2 separate regions of the Homo sapiens genome follow, and region 2 is linked to region 1. The links are contacts of gene promoters, found by promoter capture Hi-C in human tissues and cell types (Jung and others, 2019). All regions are on one chromosome and are shown on one strand. The core of a region is centred on a gene start or on the middle of the fragment in contact, and the rest is flanking DNA. Distances in the headings are between cores, read along the strand shown.

Region 1 (5,873 bases), core at 2,401-4,900:
GAGCATTGATTAGTCTTCAAACCTGCCTGCAAAAAACCTTCCTTTCTCCGTTCCATCTAAGGAGATGTTGATGTATATTGTAGCTGCAAGGTGTTAGATATACTTGAGCAAGTTGTTCCCAGGATGTAAATTAGGTCCCAAAAGCTGTTGTCCAAATCGAAGAAACAGAGAAATTAATCTGGGAGACTATCCATCATCACCGGTAATAAAGAGAGCGACATGGATGAGACAGATGATATGATTAAGGGGCTGTGGTCGTTTTAATTAACTTTTTGCTGTCCTGTAATGATCAAACTGGTCACCAGACCCGGTCAATAAGCATGTTAATATCAAACAAATAAAACCAGGGATGATTAAAAACCTCCTAGTTTATTAAATTTGAAATTCAAATGAAATTTATGCTGCAGATGCATACAGAATGCTAATAGATTTTAGCTTTATTGATAGTGGATCCCACAGGTTTGCAAGAAACAGCAGAATATCCATCTACCCCTCTTCCTGCCAGCACATTAAACTTCATATGGGGTGGAGAAACTTTTAATTAATGTTAGAAAGCCTGTACTTCCTATTTTTCTTCCCCCTCTTTTTCAAACATCTATATTATCACAATATAATACTCAAGAGTAATAATCAATATCGTAAAAGTTAAACCGAAGTGTATGCACCCTGAAATGCTTTGCCAGGCAGGCTATATCAACAATGGATTACAGATGTTCTCTCCTATGGGACAGGATTTAAGAATGATTGGGTCACTTCTCCAAAGTGGAGAAAGAGCTGTCATTAAGTCTAGTTTCAAGCATATTTAGATGCAAAATTATGACTGCTAAAATTTTTGGTCAATTATATAATTCTCTTTGTCTTTTCTTTTTAACACAGCTGCCTTATGCCTCATGTCACAAACACTAGCCATTTCTTTTGGGGAGGGAGTGAAAGAAGGGTGGTACAAGAAAAAAATGCCCTTTGACCAATGCTACTATGAAAGAAATAGCTCACTTTTTATATGAAAGTAAGTGGAATATACATATATTTCTAATAAAAAATATATATACATATATATAATGAAGAAAGTTGCACATACACACCTTTGTGGAAATCCCCAAATGCTGCAAGCCAATCTTACACAAACTGAAGAATCCAGTATTTTCATTAAATCCACACCAACGTTGTGACTTATAGGAAGAATGACATATGATTCTAAAGTTAATTTATACACTTGAAAAATCTTAGAATTAGGTAGCTCAAAACTGCAGTCACATGACGCTGGGTTTTTCTAATTCCTGGCATTTTTGAGGAAACAGTGTTAACGCCTCTGTTTACTCTCAGTATCAGCATTTAACTTTTTAATAGTCCTGCCTCACTTCCTTCCAGAAGATAGGAGGATAAAAAGATAAAATAAATAACTATTCATAGATGGGAGCCTCCCCTCAAAGCTGTTTTTCTCCACCTTTGAGGATGATGGTATTGATTAGAATTAAACCCCAAATCTGAACAACTGTATATTAGGCCCTTAAAATGAATATCATTAAAGAAGGAGACCAAAGCAATGAAGTTAATTCTCTTTTATTTGTTAAACGGAGTACCCTCCTTCCCCCACCCCTTCCTCCTTCTGGGCTGGCCTGTCACGCCTTCTCAACACGCTAAAATCATTCAGAGCGGCTTGCAGGGAGAAACACGACATTTATGGTAAGCGTCAGCCCTCAGAGAAAGAAAGCAGTTCATTAATTTACTTCACACTTACTTCAAAGTATGAGAGTATACCTTACCCCCTTAATCAATAGATATGATGTACAGTCAATATCCCCACAGCGTTTAAAAAAGGGTCAGAAATGTACACTCTCACACCACAAACATCAGTTTCAACTCTGCTCAATGAAATTTACACGATACAACTTGACTTCGAAATTTTGTAAACCCTAGGAAGATTTTTTGACATCCCTAGAAGCTGTGAAATCCTTGAGGGGGGTTCAAACACAACAGTAAAATAAAAATGTTTTCCCAGTCAAAACAAAACAGTTCGCCCAGCTAGTCACATTTTAGTTAATTCCATTTTAAAATTAGACTTCTGAGAGCACTTGTAACTGGTTAAAAATATGAACTGTTTTTATAACTTATGAATATTCAATAGGGCTACAAAGACTGGACTTTTTGCTACACTGGTGTTGTGCTTTCTGCGGTTTAAGTTCCCTTGTGGTGGCAGTGAAATTGTAATGGCATTTCTGAAGGCAACTAATAACACAAATGGCAAGCAAATGACTAAACCCCACCGAATTTGAACTAAGTGTATCTATTAACATGCACACACACTCATAGACAGATCTCTGGCCCAATCGCCATTAGACACTGACGCCTGGATAAATGTCCAAGATTTGTCAAAAGCTCCTCTCTATTCTTAGATAAATAGAACCCATATATTTCGATCAAAGTCCTGATTCTTTTCTCAGAAAGAGGCAGTGAGGTTTTCTGTGAAAATTTCTAAATTCCGTAAAACGCTCTTCAATTTCTTACCCAAAGAAAAAACGACCCTCGCTTACTCTCTTCTCTATCTAATCCTTTTGTATTGAAATTTACTCAACACCACGGGACACACACACCTCCTCCCCTAGAGTGAGACGTGCACTTCTAAAGCAGAATTCCACCTCAGGGAAAAAAAAAAAAAAAAAAAAAAAAAAAGCCACGGCATCAAAGAAACAACTCATGGGCGCGCAGGCGCGCATCCACGTCCCAACGCATCCCTAAAAATAACCCTTAGCCTCTCAACCTTTCTACTATTTCGTTGGAGAGCCGGGAAAGAAAAGGTGGGTTTAAAGATCTTCTTCAAAAATGTAGTGACGCTGTTTACCAAGTTAAGAAAAAAAAATCACTCAAGATTTTAGGTACAAGGAGCCAAAGGAAGTTGGCGACAGGGGCAGCGTTTGTGAATATTTATTCACTCAGCCTCCATCAACTTAGTCGGTTTCTCTCTTCAGCTCGACAGTCTCTCTCTTACAAACACACACTTTATTGCATTGTTCCCATTCCCCACTACCAGCTTTGGTGCGCGCACACAACACAAGCGCCCACACACACCCTTCCCTCTTCTCTGTCGCACAAATACACATGTTCACAGCCCTCCTTCTCCCCCAACACCAAACACACTCACCCCCCACCCAGTTGAGTCCCTCTTCCCTCCCTAGGTTTGTCAGTTACACTACCGTACACTCACACCCTTCCCAACACTTAACTGCTCTGTCCCTCTACCCCGCTTTGTCGCACACGCAGTTATCTTATCACACAACCCTCCCTTTTCTGCACTCTCTCCACTCCCCGCCTTTACCACACTGTCACTGTTACGGTGTCACACCCCCATCCCCCCTCCCTCCAGTCTCCGCACTGTCCTCTCCTACGCCTGGTCACACTCGCACACAGTTACATTGTTACACACACACTCATACACGCGAGCGCGCGCTTTGCGCTTTGTAACACACGCAGCCGCCCCCGCCCCCTCCGCTCCCACTCCCCCTTCCACCACGGCGGCAGGCGGCGGCGCCGATGACCTCACGGCGCGCGCGCCGCGCGGCCCGGCGAGGCCGCAGATTGGCTGGCCGCGCCTCCGCGGCACTTCAAAGCCGGAGAGGGAGCTACAATTGTGGTGGAATGGGCGGAACTGATCATTGTATTGCACACCTCTAAAAAAAACACTGCCTCTGATTTATCAATATAAAAAAGATCCTCTGAGAGGAGGAGGGCACTTTTGTGTGATGGCAACTTCACTTCTAGGGGTGAGTCTCAGGATTTTCTCTTGCTGGTTTAATTAGTTTCCTTTTATTGCCGATTGGAGGGGGTTAAAGTCGCCCCGGCCAGGCCACGGGCTATCAGTCTCTCTATTGAGAGCTTTTTTTTTTTTTCTTTAAATACAAGTGAGTTTGGAGAAAAGAAAAAGGGGGAGAAGGGGGCAGAGTCACTTTTTTTCAGCGCAGGAAAAGGTTCGAAGGGCATTTAGACAAGCCACCGCGCAGCGCCTCGCTGCTCCCTGCCCGGGAGACCTGCGTCCAGCCCATTTTACAGGCACCGATTTCGGGGGTAAAGAGAGCAAGTTTTTCCTTCTGGGCAAAGTGCAGATTCTTCCCCTAACCCTTAAAAAAAAATTCTGCAGCCCGCCTTGTCTCGCAGGTACGTTGAACTCGTCTCGTTTTTACTACTGTAGATATGCTTTTAAAAAAAGAAAGAAAGAAAAGCAGGAAGAAAGAGTGAGCCCTACAGTTTGATTTCTTTTGGCCTGGGAGAAACAACCCAGGATGGGTTTCTGGGGACCCGAACAGGTTTTTCAAAGCTCTCCGGATTACAGGGAAGCGCTCTTAAAAGCAATCCAATGGTTTTCCCCCAGGCTTCTCGGCAAAGAAAACTTCCTTCCTCTCCAATCTGGACTTTTTGCTTGTTTGTTACGAAGTGTCTGGGGCTTTGTGTGCAAGAGAGTGTTGTTTTAGGTGAGAATACTTGTCAAACTCTTCTTTAGCGTGGTGCTTGCTCCCGAATCAGACGCCGGCAGCCAAACTTGTCCCCTCCTGTAGAGTAGGAAGCGGCCGGGCGCCGGGGCTGTTGGGGGTGCCAGGTGAGTTGGTGGCGGCGCGCCGCAGCGAGAGATGGGGTGCAGTGGGGCGCTTTGGAGGCTACCGAAGGACTGATGCACATTTCTTCCTTTCCTCCCCCACCGGCCCTTTGCCCACCTCCCCTCCCCCACTCCTTCTCCTCTCCTCCTCGCAGGAAGAACCGAGGTTGGGATCGACTCCTCTGGCCATGCTTGCCGCTACCTGTAATAAGATAGGCAGCCCCAGCCCGTCTCCCTCCTCCCTCTCGGACAGCTCTTCTTCCTTCGGCAAAGGCTTCCACCCCTGGAAACGCTCCTCGTCCTCTTCTTCCGCCAGCTGCAACGTAGTGGGTTCCAGTCTCTCAAGCTTCGGCGTGTCCGGGGCCTCCAGGAACGGCGGCTCGTCCTCGGCGGCTGCGGCGGCCGCGGCAGCAGCCGCGGCTGCCGCGGCCCTGGTGTCCGACTCGTTCAGCTGCGGCGGCTCGCCTGGCTCCAGCGCCTTCTCCCTCACCTCCAGCAGCGCCGCAGCCGCCGCCGCCGCCGCCGCAGCCGCCGCCTCCAGCTCGCCCTTCGCCAACGACTACTCTGTTTTCCAGGCCCCCGGAGTTTCCGGGGGCAGCGGCGGCGGCGGCGGGGGCGGCGGCGGCGGCTCCTCCGCGCACTCGCAGGACGGCTCCCACCAGCCGGTGTTCATCTCCAAGGTGCACACCTCTGTGGACGGGCTGCAGGGCATCTACCCGCGGGTGGGCATGGCGCACCCGTACGAGTCGTGGTTTAAGCCCTCGCACCCGGGCCTGGGTGCTGCGGGCGAGGTGGGCTCGGCCGGCGCCTCCAGCTGGTGGGACGTGGGGGCCGGCTGGATCGACGTGCAGAACCCGAACAGCGCGGCTGCGCTGCCCGGCTCGCTGCACCCTGCCGCCGGGGGGCTCCAAACCTCGCTGCACTCGCCGCTCGGAGGCTACAACTCGGATTACTCGGGCCTGAGTCACTCGGCCTTCAGCAGCGGCGCCTCCTCGCACCTGCTCAGCCCCGCCGGGCAGCACCTCATGGACGGCTTCAAGCCAGTGCTACCCGGCTCCTACCCGGACTCGGCCCCGTCGCCGCTGGCCGGCGCGGGGGGCTCCATGTTGAGCGCTGGGCCTTCGGCGCCGCTGGGGGGCTCCCCGCGCTCCTCAGCTCGCCGCTACTCCGGCCGCGCCACCTGCGACTGCCCCAACTGCCAGGAGGCAGAGCGGCTGGGCCCTGCCGGGGCGAGCTTGCGGCGCAAGGGCCTGCACAGCTGCCACATCCCGGGCTGCGGCAAGGTGTA
Region 2 (5,239 bases), core at 1,024-3,523, 680 kb before region 1:
CCCCTTCTTCTCTGTTAGCTCCTTTTTGTTTGGTTGCTTTTTTTTTTCTTTTTTTTTAAGAGATGGGGGTCTCACTCTGCTGTTCAGACCAGTCTTGAACTCCAGGGCTCAAGCAATTCTCCTGCCTTGGTCTCCCAAGTAGCTGAGATTACAGGCATGCACCACCATGCATGGCCTTAGCAATTTTTTAAAATCAGCACTTAAATCTAAATTTATGTCACTTTCTGAAAAGATTTATCAGCCAGGTGCAGTGGCTCACACCTGTAATCCCCGCACTTTGGGAGGCCGAGGCAGGAGGACTGCTTGAGCCCAGGAGTTCAAGACCAACCTAGGCAACGCAGTGAGATGCCATCTCTTAAAAAAATTAAAAAATTAGCCAGGCATGGTGGCATGTGCCTGTAGTCCTGGCTACTCATGAGAATGAGGTGCTGAGGTGAGAGGATCACTTGAGCCCTGGGGATCAAGACTTCAGTGAGCCGTGATGGCACCACTGTACTTCAACTTCAGCCTGGGTGACAGAGAAAGTCCCTCTCAAAAACAAACAAACAAACAAACAATCAAACAAAATACACCCTCTACTCTTCCTAGGCCACTCTCCAGGGTTCTGACTTCTCATTCTAACTCTCTTCTTGGGGGACCTCATCTACTTTCATAACTTTTACTGCTATGTGTAAGCTGATTAACTCACAGATCTGTGCCTTCCACTCAGAAGTGTCATACTCTTACTATCAACTGCCAGTGAACACTTCCACCTGAATCCTCACAAGCAATCTAAGAACCAGATAGCTTAGCCCACTTTCCTAATATAGCTCTTTTTCACCATTCAAATAGAAAATTTGGAAGTCATTCTTGATTCCTCTCTATCTCCTTCACCCTGACAACAAGAGCAACTATTGTTTTATATCTACTATGTGGTAAGGCACTTTACTGGATGTTTTCCATATATTGTTTCACATCCCTATGGGCTAAATATTACTGTCCCAAATTTTTATTTTTAATAAATGGAGTCTTGCTCTCTTGCCCAGGCTAGAGTACAGCGGCACAATCATGGCTTACTGTAGCCTCTAACTCTTGGACTCAAGCAATCCTCCTGCCTCAGCCTCCTGAGTAGTTGGGACTACAGATGCATGCCACCACACCTAGTTAATTTTTAAAATTCTTTTAGAGATTATGTCTCACTATGTTGCCCACGCTACACTCAAACTCCTGACCTCAAGTGATCCTCCTGCCTCAGCCTCCCAAGTAGCTGGGACTATAGGCACAAGCCATGGCACCCAGCTTACTGTCCCAATTAAGATGAGAAAACTAAGGTTCTCAGGGGTATGTAAAACATCCAAGATCCTAAAATGGAAAAGTGACAGAGCTGGGATTTGAACCCACACTTATCCAACTCAAAAAGCTATTCTCTTTCCACCATATACATTATCTATGTTGATCATAAGTCCCTGTTAAGTCTACCTCTTCAAAATATCTCAAATGTCTCCATTTTCACCATACCTATTGCTTGTACACTAGTGCAAGCCCTTATCACCAGTTTTGCCCCTTCTAATATTCATATTGCAGACCTAGCTCCCCAAAAAGCCAATGGGCCCTCCATACATTCACAATAAGGTCAGTATTTCTTAGCATAGTACATAAAGTTCTTCATGATCTAACTCCTGCTTAGTTTTATAACTTCATCTCTTGGCACTCCTGCTCCATGCCCACTCTCACCATCACCTACAGTGAACTCCTGTCTTCTCTAATGTTCTGTGTCTCCGAGCATTTGAATAATATAGCTGGAATCCAACACATTCTCCCACCCCAAACCTCCATCTCCCTTGGTCTGACAAAAGTCTATTCATCTTACAGATTTTAGTCTTTAATCCTTCTTACCAATGAAACTGCTTTGTAAAATAATTTTTTTAATAACTCAAAATTTCTTGGTATTGTAACTACACATTATGGTGAAACAGACTGAGGATGGCCGTTCTTTTATTTTTCTTCCACATTACCAGAGGTAAAACATTCCAAGGCTGCTTGGAGCAGCCAAGCCATCTTTCTTATTCCTTTTTTGTTCTGCTTTTTTTTTTTTTTTTTTTTCCAAATATAGAAACTGGGCCAAGGTAATGGAGGGGGACAGTTTGTTGGTAGGTAGTAAGACATCTGAATTGCTAACTATTCAACAAGATCTAGCTTGTTGGACATTTCTTGCTCATTTTCTTTTAGTACCAGTAGTTTTTTGCCTTAGTAGAGTAGTAAAATTTGAGACGACTTGAATTTAAGCTAACACGTAGAAAGGAAAGTCAGGTTTAGCTGGTAAAGGAAAAAGGCATATTCCATATAGAATAACCTAGTTCTCTGGATTGTGAGGCAGGGGCCTATGCCTAAGCCAACAAATTCTAACTTGAATTTTGGTATACCTAGCTCCCTAAGGGATCTCAAGAATTGGTTGAATTAGAATTTAAGTATTTCTGGTCTTACTAGTAAGACACCATCTCACTCCATCATAATATTAGTCATAAATTATTTCCAACAAAAGCTGCTCAAGAAAGAGGCCATCTGTGTGGTTTTTATGTCATTTGTCCTTTGGCTACCAAGGTTCCTGACACACTGAAAGTACTTAATGAATGTTTCTTAAATAAAGCGAATGATAATCTAAAATCTATACAAACATAGAAGCTTTCTTACGAAACTCGGCCAGCAGTATATCACAGGGCTGCTAAATGACAGCTAGTTTACAATACACATGCACATGGGTGACAAGACAGTAAGAAACCAAATCAAGTGGATATCTGCTACACTTCCTCCCTGACTCACTGATATGGCAGTCAGATCATTTAGAAGCAGATCCCAGAGCATAACTCTCAACCTTGGTTCTGAAACTATGTACTACTCTCTCAGGTATCAGATTTCTCCTATGACATTTGCTATCTACATTCAGCAAGGTGTTTTTTTTTTGAAAAGAGTATTATAAAAATATTAACTCTAAAAAATTATAGGCCCAGCATGGTGGCTCATGACTGTAATTGCAGCACTTTGGGAGGCCGAGGTAGGTGGATCACAAGGTCAGGAGTTTGAGACCAACTAGTCCTAGCCTGGCCAATATGGTGAAATCTTGTCTCTACTAAAAATACAAAAAAATTAGCCGGGTGTGGTGGCGGGCACCTGTAGTCCCAGCTACTTGGTAGGCTGAGGCAAGAGAATCACTTGGATCCGGGAGGCGGAGGTTGCAGTGAGTGGAGATCTCACCACTGCACTCCAGCCTGGGCGACAGAGCAAGACTCCGTCTCAAAAAAAAAAAAAAAAAAATTATAACTAAACTTGCCATTTAGGGAATAGGCTAAGATTTCTCCCTTTCTACCTATTTTGATGAAAATAAATAGTTTAGTATTACAAACACATACACTTTAAGTTTCTTTTTCTTCTGATTTTAAGAACAAAGCATGCTCACCATAGAAAACTATGAATGAGGAAATGAAATCATCCAGAAAGTAATTACCCATAGATTACCACTATTATCATTTTGATGTGATGATCTAAGTTCTGTTTTAATCTTTGTTCAATGTATTTTGATGCTGATACAACTTTACTATATAAAAATTCTGTATTATCCTCTTTTACTTATTTAGTAATATAAGTACTTCTAAGTTATTAATATTACAAATTATTTTAATAGTTGTGCAATATTTCATCATATACCATAATTTACAAAGCCATTACTGTACTGTTAGATATTTATTTCCAAATACTTATTATAAGTAACATAAAGTAATGAGCAACTTGAACTAAAATATTGTTTATTATTTCCAAGGGATAGTCCTAGAAGTGAGATTACTAAATCAAAGGACATGAAACATTTGTAAGACTATCTAGATTATAAAATTACAGGAGTATATATAAAGAGCTGCATTCATTTACATTTCCACCAGAAGTATGGGAGAATGCTGTTTCATCTCATGGAGCATGAGAAATTCAGTAAAATGTATAAAATCATTTAATAAACAAAAAATTGGATATCTCACTGTAGTTTCTAATAGAAGTGATTACTGCTCTCACCTCTAATACTGTACATTTCCTTAAGGTCTAAGCCAATGTAGTAAGGCAAGAAATAACAGATCTATATAAGAAATAAAGACTTAAAAGGAAGTAACGAAACTGTCATGATTTACAAAAGATATAATTATATTACTTAGAAAACTATAGAAAAATCAACAAATTATTATAATATGACATCTGTACATCAGCGAGATGGCCAAATACAAGAGCAACATAAAAAAGCAACAGTTCCCAACCATATCAGCAACAAACAATTGAAAAAGAAAAAAAAAAAATTCCATTCATAATAGCAACAATAACCACAAATATCTGAGAAATCAATCTAATTAGTAATATGCAAGATCTTGAGGAAGATTTAATAAAGGATATAAAACAAGACCTCAAAAGAGAGAAATATATGTTCTTGGATAGGAAGAATCATTAAACTAAATGTGTCAATTCTTCCAAAATTATTCTAGGAAGTGAATGCAATCACAAATTTAATTCGAAACTTTTCCATGAAAGTCTGCTAATTTGACATGTGAAAAATCAGCTAAGAAAAGTCTGAAAAAGCAGAATAGTAGAATAAAGATATGTAGGTAGCTACAGTAATTAAAATAAGGTGCTGTTAGCTTAGGAATAGGGACAGAAATGAACACAATTTAAAACAGATGCGTGTGTGTACACAAAATAATCCAACTGTGCCTTATTTCTTCTTTTGGAAAAGACGATTTGCAAGGTTTTTTCTTATAGTAAATAGTAAGTAACATTACTCTGTAAGTAAGACAGATCCGCAAATTTGAAAAACAAAACTATTTATCTATCTACCTATAAATAAACTCACCAACCAATAAACTGAAATTGACCTATTTAATAATAATCATACAGCAGGTTCAAAGTACATGTGTTTCTTAATTATGTTTTGTGCATATAACCTAGGGAACAAGGTTTTCTAATATAACTGATCAGGAAAAACAAAAGCTGTTGATTTCTATGATACAAAACTTGCCATGGGGGGCAGTGGGATTTTTTCTGTTCTGAATAATACTAAAATGATTCTTAACTGAGCCTACCTAGATTGACTTCCTTTACAGATTAAACTTGGAATCTGCCTAAGAAAATGTCTAAGGTCCTCTCAAAAAATATGTCTCCTAACATTGCAAATAACTTTCAATAAACACACTCTAAAATAGGATTTGGTTTACATAATGATCTGACTTAA

Evidence for each region. The method cuts DNA at HindIII sites, captures the fragments that hold promoters and counts their contacts. A contact is called where the count stands out against the background at its distance.
Region 2: a contact is called between a fragment that was not itself captured here and the fragment with the promoter of SP8 in region 1, in 2 of the 25 tissues and cell types used here (H1 embryonic stem cells and heart left ventricle).

Annotation. Positions count from the first base shown.
Region 1 is chr7:20,784,663-20,790,535 of GRCh38, reverse strand. It overlaps SP8 (Sp8 transcription factor), which reads left to right and starts at 3,650. Exons shown (of 2, transcript NM_182700.6): 1 at 3,650-3,758; 2 at 4,741-5,873. The coding sequence starts at 3,738. The HindIII fragment of the contact is 9,980 bases long and covers 1-5,873 here.
Region 2 is chr7:21,467,593-21,472,831 of GRCh38, reverse strand. All of the region lies in intron 3 of SP4 (Sp4 transcription factor), which reads right to left. MIR1183 (microRNA 1183) reads right to left here and starts at 1,774; the gene lies at 1,686-1,774. The HindIII fragment of the contact is 5,755 bases long and covers 1-5,150 here.